Linked DNA regions of Homo sapiens: region 1 is linked to region 2. The links are contacts of gene promoters, found by promoter capture Hi-C in human tissues and cell types (Jung and others, 2019). All regions are on one chromosome and are shown on one strand. The core of a region is centred on a gene start or on the middle of the fragment in contact, and the rest is flanking DNA. Distances in the headings are between cores, read along the strand shown.

What was found. Contacts are between HindIII fragments. The study calls those that stand out against the background at their distance.
Region 1: a contact is called between a fragment that was not itself captured here and the fragment with the promoter of ZNF35 in region 2, in 1 of the 25 tissues and cell types used here (heart right ventricle).

What each region holds. Positions count from the first base shown.
Region 1 is chr3:45,660,589-45,664,554 of GRCh38, forward strand. All of the region lies in intron 2 of LIMD1 (LIM domain containing 1), which reads left to right. Among named protein-coding and RNA genes, the nearest start is that of LIMD1-AS1, 26 kb to the right of the region's middle. The HindIII fragment of the contact is 5,401 bases long and covers 1-3,966 here.
Region 2 is chr3:44,646,495-44,650,406 of GRCh38, forward strand. It overlaps ZNF35 (zinc finger protein 35), which reads left to right and starts at 2,238. Exons shown (of 4, transcript NM_003420.4): 1 at 2,238-2,340. It overlaps ZNF660-ZNF197 (ZNF660-ZNF197 readthrough), which reads left to right. Exons shown (of 8, transcript NR_147692.2): 8 at 1-1,977. It overlaps ZNF197 (zinc finger protein 197), which reads left to right. Exons shown (of 6, transcript NM_006991.5): 6 at 1-1,977. All of the region lies in intron 2 of ZKSCAN7-AS1 (ZKSCAN7 ZNF cluster antisense RNA 1), which reads right to left. RefSeq lists enhancers at 1,923-2,482, 2,361-2,530, 2,611-2,720. The HindIII fragment of the contact is 5,730 bases long and covers 1-3,912 here.

The sequences.
Region 1 (3,966 bases), core at 1,035-3,534, 1.0 Mb after region 2:
TATTTTTAGTGGAGATGAGGTTTCGCCATGTTGGCCAGGCTGGTCTCGAACTCGTGATCTCAAGTGGTCCAACAGCCTCAGCCTCCCAGAGTGCTGGGATCACAGGCGTGAGCCACCGCGCCCGGCCAGGTGGGCTGTTTGTGTTCCTCGTCACCTTGTTCCTGGGGAGGGACAGAGGGCAGCAGATCAGCTGTCACCCAGGTAGGTGTCCGACGTGGGAAAAGTATGGGAAAGATACTCTAGTTAGTTCTCATTTTCTTTTCTAAAACTTCGAGTTCTCTGGAGTCCCTTTATAGAGAGAAAGTTTAAGTAACTGAAATTAATTTCCATGGCTGTCAAGGGGGTTCTGATGATGATCCCTGAGATCACCCAGCTGTAGGTAGACATTCTTGGTACCTTAGTTTAGCAGAGTCAGAAAATACTGCGAACGTTCAAGGATGGGGACCTTCTAGAAGAGAGGGCAACAGTAACTTTGAGGGGAGGACAAGAGAGCAGCTTTGGAGACCTAAAGAGTTGTGGCCTTCTATGTAAGTCCTATTATCCCTTCCATGCACCCCCACCCACATTCCCCTACTCCATTAAACTTTGTTTCAGGTTATAAAAATAATGCATAATTATTGCAGGAAAAAATGGTAATTGAAAATCACCTATTTCTTACACTCAAAGATAATGACTTAAAATTTGGTGTACATCTTATGTGTATGAGTGTACACATAATTTTGTCATCATATATGTGAGTGTGTTCATAACTGTAACCCACATACTTATATACTTCCTTTAAAATATTTTAAGTATTTTTCCCTGTCAATAAATATTTTTTTGAAAACACAATCTTTTTATGGCTGCATAATATTCCAACATGTATATGGGTTATCATTTAATAGGAATTGGACATTTGATGCTCATTTTTAGCAAGCTATTATAAATCTGAGATGACGATTTCTGGAACTAGGATAAATTCCTGAAATAGAATTTTTGGGGAGAAAATATCTGAACTTTGTAAATTCTACTGACATTTAATACAAATTTCTCTCCTAAGAGCTTGTTTTAGCTTCTGCTATCCCTTGCAGAGTGTGAACAAGTATCTGTTTGTCTGTGTCATTACTAACACTGGGGTTATCATTCTTTTTAAGCTTTGCTAGTCTGATAGGTAAAGCATAGGGTTTTTTGTTGTTGTTTGTTTTTGGAGAGACAGAGTCTCACTCTATTGCCCAGGCTGGCGTGCACAGACGTGATCTCAGCTCACTGCAGTCTCAACCTCTAGGCACAAGTGATCCTCCTAGCTCAGCCTCCTAAGTAGCTGGGACTACAGGCGTGCCCCACTACACCTAGCTAACTTTTTTATTATTTGTAGAGATGGGATCTTGCTGTGTTGCCTAGGCTGGTCTTGAGCTCCTGGGTTCAAGTGATCCTCCCACCTTGGCCTCCCAAAGTGTTGGAATTACAGGTGTGAGCCACTGTGCCTGGCAGCAATATTTTTTAAATCATGAGGAAAGCTAAAGATTTTATTTTATAGTTATTGATCATTCATACTTATTTTGTGGTTTGTCTGCCTATTCTTTACCCATTTTTTATATAGGACTGTTACTTGAGTTATTTTCATATTAGAGTTACATCCTTTTCTGTCATACAGTATAGATGTTTGCTCTAGTTTGTTATTGCCTTTTCGTTTACGGTGTTTCACCTAAGTGTGTGTGTGTGTGTGTGTGTGTGCGCGTGTAAAACCTACTGGAAGGTACTATGGGAAATAATCCTTATTTACCTGTCACCCAGAATGCACAGACATTTTTACATTATAGTTTTGGTTTGATATTTTTTATAAAGGAAATTAAATATATAAAAATTGTGTGTGTATTTTAAAACCTACTGGAAAGTACTATAGGAAATAATCCTTATTTACCTATCACCCAGAATGCACAGACATTTTTACATTGTAGCTTTGATTCTGTATTTTTATAAAGGAAATAAAATATTATATAAAAATTGGAATCATCTTGATTCCTTTTCCCATCCTCTCCCTTCCTTCCCTAGGGCAGCTGCCATTATGAATTGAAATTTTCCTACTGTTACCATATATACTATTGTCAATAAAAAACATACAGTACTAGTTTACAGTACTAGTTTGTGGCCGGGCATGGTGGCTCACACCTGTAATCCCAGCACTTTGGGAGGCCGAGGTGGGTGGATCACCTGAGGTCAGGAGTTCGAGACCAGCCTGGCCACCATCTCTACTAAAAATACAAAAATTAGCCGGGTATGGTGGTGAGTGCCTGTAATCCCAGTTGCTTGGGAGGCTGAGGCAGGAGAATCACTTGAACCTGGGAGGCAGAGGCTGCAGTGAACCAAGATCGTGCCACTGCACTCCAGCCTGGGCGACACAGCGAGACTCCGTCTCAAAAAAAAAAAACAAAACAGTACTAGTTTGTGTATGTGTGTGTGCGCACTCTCAAACTTACACATATACGATCATTGGTATATCTTCAGGCATTTTGCCTTATTTGCACTGGTGTTCAGTTCAATTAATAATGATATGCATAGATCTAGCCCTTTCATTTTGACTGCTGTCTGGTATTACATCCAGTAAATACAGCTCCAGTTTCTTCGTCTATTTATCAATTCTCATATCTAGTGAACACTGAAGACGCTTCTAGTTTTTCCATAACAACGTTGCCGTGAACATCCATACATGTCTGTCCTCATGCATGTTTGGGTAATCTTCTCAAGGGGCAACCTTAGAAGTGTGTTGTGGATTATGTGTATTTTCAGATCTATTGGCCCTTGACAAATTGTTCCCAAGTAGTCATCCCAGTTGATGATACTCCCACCAGTGTGAAAGGGCTCCTCTTGTCCCACACCTTCCAAGACATGCTATTAGATTTAGTAATTTTTGCCAATCTATGAAAGTGAGATAGAATCTCATTGTGGTTTTAGTTTGCATTATCCTGATTGTTGATAGGATAGAACATCTTTTTATTATAGATATTGGGGTTATGATTAATAATCCTGGTTATTCCTAAGGTATAACAGGTTTTCTATTCTATGCACTTTCTCTTCCTGCCCTTTGCTCATTTCCCCATTGGATTATTTATCTTTTTCTTATTAATTGGTGTTCTTTGTGTCTTAGGTACTAATACTATTTTAATTTATTTTATTTATTTATTTTTGAGACAGAGTCTTGCTCTGTTGCCCAGTCTTGACTCACTGCAATCTCCACCTCCTGGGTTCAAGTGATTCTTCTGCCTCAGACTCCCAAGTAGTGCGTGGCACCATGCCTGGCTAATTTTTTTTTTTTTTTTTTTTGAGACAGAGTCTCCCTCTGTCACCCAGGCTGGAGTGCAGTGGCATGATCTCGGCTCACTGCAACCTCCGCCTCCTAGGTGCAGGCGATTCTCCTGCCTCAGTCTCCCAAGTAGCTGGGGTTACAGGTGCATGCCACCATGCCCAGCTCTTTTTTGTATTTTTAGTAGAGATGGGGTTTCACCATATTGGCCAGGCTGATCTCGAACTCCTGACCTCAGGTGATCCACCTGCCTCAGCCTCCCAAAGTGCTGGCACTACAGGCTTGAGCCACTGTGCCCGGCCAATTTTTGTACCTTTTGTAGAGACAAAGTTTCACCATGTTGGCCAGGCTGGTCCCAAACTCCTGACCTCAAGTGATCCTCCCGTGTCAGCCTCCCAAAATGCTGGGACTACAGACGTGAACAACTGTGCCCGGCCAGATACTAATAGCATTTTATATGTGCTTTGGCCATCTTCTGATCCATGGCTTACTCTTCCTTTTTTCTTTAACTCAACATGTACTGCACTCTGTTAGAGTATTGCCAAAGCTTCCCCTCCAAGTATGAAGCTGACTTAGCTATATCTTCAAGGAATGTAGCATATACTCAGAGTATTAAAAAGTCCTACAGGAACCTACAGGAGGGCTGGGGGAAACATTCAGACAACACTAGATCTGGTAGCAACGAC
Region 2 (3,912 bases), core at 988-3,487:
CAGGAAATACAGGAGGCAGAGGAACAAATAAAAGACACCACGAGAAACAGACACATCCAGAACGTGGAATATTGCATAAGAAAGCTGCCCTGGATTCTTCAAAATATTATTATGATGAAAAAGAGAGGGGAGTGAAAATTGTTCAAGCTGTCTTGAGTCTGCTGTGAGTTTATTATACCATTCTCTGCTTTTGTGTATGTATGAAAATTTCGATATGAAAGGTATAAAACATGGATGAGGAGGCTTGTTTTTAAAAGATAATACTAGAGAGCCGTTAGGTACTAAGAACCAGAAATAGACTCACATAAATGGCCAATTGATTTTTGACAGGGGCAAAAGCAATTCAATGGAGGAGGGATCGCCTTTTCAGCAAATACTGTTGGAGTAATTGGATATCCATAGGCAGTAAACCAACAACTTCAGGACCTAGGACTGAGCTAAGAAGGCTCAGATGACTCAAAAGCATGCTCCTTAGAAGGAAAAAAAATGTTAAATTGGACTTCATCAAAATTAAGATAATTTACCCTGTAAGAGACCTTTTTACAAAGATGATATTACAGGTTGGGAAAAAATATTTGCAAATCATATCCAACAAGGGATTTGTATGTAAACTACATAAAGAACTTTCCAAATTTAACAGTAATAAGTAAATACAATTAGAAAATAAGCAAAAGACAGACATTTCACTGAAGTATAGATAGCAAATAAGCAAATGAAAAGATGTTCAACATCATTAGGCATGAGGGAAATGCAGAGTAAAATCGTGAGATATCACCTATCAGAATAGCTTAACTTTTTTTTTTTAATGGTGGTAACTGCTGGCAAGGATGAAGAGAAACAGGATCTCATACATTGCTGGGAATGTAAAATGGTACAGCCACTCTGGAATATAATTTGGCAGTTTCTTGTAAAACCACACATGTATATGTCATGCTTCAGGAATTGCACTTCTGAGCATTTATCCCAGAGAAATGAAAACTTGCGTTCACACAAAAACCTGTATACGAATGTTCATAGCAGCTTTATTTGTAATGGTCGAAACCTGTAGGCAACCCATATATCCTTCCTTAGGTGGTTAAAACAAATTGTGGTTTATGTATTACCATGGAATACTTGTTACTCTGCAATAAAATTGACTTATTGATATCCATAACAACTCAAATAAATTTCAAGGGAATTAATGCTGAGTGAAAATAATCACAAAAGGCCATATTCTGTATGAAAATATTCATATAACATTCTCAAAATGATAAAACTATAGAGATGAAAAATGGATTAATGGTTGCCAAAGGTTAGGGATGGTGGGAGGAAAAATGGGGAGAGGGTTGGATGGAACTATTAAAAGGTAGCACCAGAAAGGTCTTTGTGGTGATGGAACACTTGTGTATCTTGATTGCAGTGGTGGTTACACAAATCTATAGGTGCTATACCTATACACACATACTGTACCAATGTTGATTTCCTTTTTCATTTTATGTAAGATGTAACCATGAGGGGAAAGTGGGTGAAGGGTGCTATCTTTGCAACTTCCTGTGATTCTATCATTTCAAAATAAAAAGTAAAAACCAACAATGGCAACGAAAACCCAAAACTAAAGAGCTGTAACCAACTAAAGTGTGTGAAACTGATTTGAAAAAAAGTTATAAAATACATGTTTTAGGACAGTTGGGAAATTTGAATATGACTGGTTATTAGATGGTATTAGGGAATTTTTGTTGATTTTCTTACCTGTGACGGTGGTGGTAGTTTGAAGAATATTCTTAATCTTAAGGGATGCATGTTGAAGTATTTGGAATGAAGTGTTCTGATGTTTACAACTTTCAAAAAAATGATTTTAAATATGTATTGAGAGATCAGGCAAACATAGCAAAATGTTCATTGTTGAGTCCACATGGAAAATACGGGTATTCAATGTGCCATACTTTCAACTCTTCTGTACTCTGATATTTTCAAAATAAAACATTTGAGGGGAAATTATCAGGGCTTTCTACAGATTAATGCTGTGTAGCTTCAGGCTCTTGGGTGCGCGCCTCGCCTGAGTGTCTCATCCCTGCTTGGGATGCGCCCCTCCCTGAGGCTCACTTAGAGCTTCCAACAGCACAATCCTCCTAAGCGCTTCTGCCCCATCCCTGGTCTGGGGCGACATTGGACACCCATCGAGAGGAAAGCACCTCCGAGGTTCCTAGAGAGGCCGGCTTGGCGACTTGGGGAGCCGGAAGCCCATCCCGAGGCACTTCCTGTCCGGTCATTGTTCTCGTGCCGGTAGAAGCTGAAGTACCGGTCAGCCAGCCTCCTGCTGCAGAGCCAGTGAACTCAGGTCGGGCTTCTCAGCTGCGCACAGTGAGTGGGGTCGGAGGGGGTGGGCACGAACGTCGAGGGAGAAAAAGGGGCTCTCCCAGGGGCCATGGCCCTAGGAGCGGCCCCTGCGTCCTTTCCCCGGGGACACCAGCCTTGTCTGTCGGGGTGCGGGGGGCAGTGAGTTCCCCACCGCCTCGGAATCCCGGCTGCTGCCCACCTGGGGCCTGGTCCGGGAGAGGATGCACACGGACCGGCCAAGGGGCCAGATAGGTCCCAGGGACAGGGCCGCGAGGAGCCTATACGTGGAAAGAATGGATTGCCACGTTTGGAAATAGAGAAAGGACGTTGAAAGGGAGCCTTTGATAGAGGGCCCTGTGCCGTCTGGGACCGGAGGTCCGTCAGAATCTGATCAGAAGTCTGATGAGAGTACTCACTGTAGGCAGTCTTATACACAAGGTGGAACTAGTCTTAAGGACCTTCATACCAGATTGAATTCGGATAGTGATGGAAAGAATAGTCCTCCAGAATTAAGGTTTGTCACAGGAATGAAAGTATTGCATTACTTAATAAATTCAGTGTATACAGTAAGTGGCCAGTAAGTTGACATGGGGAAAAGAGTATGATCACTTCAATAGCAGCAACAGGGGATTGAATAAGATTTCGCACCCTTTTCCAATAAAACATTCAAAGGGGGTTAGAAAGAAAAATTTCAATCTCTTCATAAGCAATCAAACTAGTAAGGTTATTTTGCTCACAGGTTAAAAACAAAAACCCTGCTGGCTTAGCTGTGATAAAGGGTTACTGTCAATTAGTGGGGGTGTGAATTGGCATGGTGCTTTTGGAAAGCAATTTGACAGTACATATCAACCAGCAAATCCTTGAACCAGTAATTCTCTGATTATTCTAAAGGAATAATTCAGCAAAAAAAAAATATTTACAAAGAAAAACTTTTAAATATTAATAAAATGGAAATATAAACTTTTACTAAATAAATGGTTCATAAATAGAATATGATTAAGTAAATGATAATATAGCCACAATTTAGAATACTATGCCAGAATGAGGTAGTTCTATATGTGTTGTATTGAAAGATTGTTAAGACTATTGTGAAATACGGAAATTGAGTTAAAAAACAATGCAGGTTGCTGAACAGTATATAACTGTGATGATCTAAAGTATGTTTTTGAAAAATAAGCAATATGTGTGAAGGTGAACATATAAGTATGTAAATGCAGAGAAAATGGGTTAGGACTCCCATCTAAACTGATAAGTACTTTGTGTGTGTGTGTGTGTGTGTGTGTAGTGTGTGTAGGTTATATATTTAATTCTATATATTTCTGTATTACTTGATCCTTTTTCAATGAGAGTGAAGATTTATCAACACCATAGGTTATTGTGTAGCATTTAAAATAAGCATGAAGAATGGCAACATGAAAGTAATCTTTTTTTAAATCTTAAGTGTAATATTTTATCTCACAGGACATTTGGAAGCTATGGAAAATGTAAAAATCAAACAAAAAAAATGAAAAGAACCTTAAAACTACCTGTAATTACACCATCCAGAGTTAACTACCCACTGCTAACACGTTGGTATAAAGACTCCCAGTCTTTTTC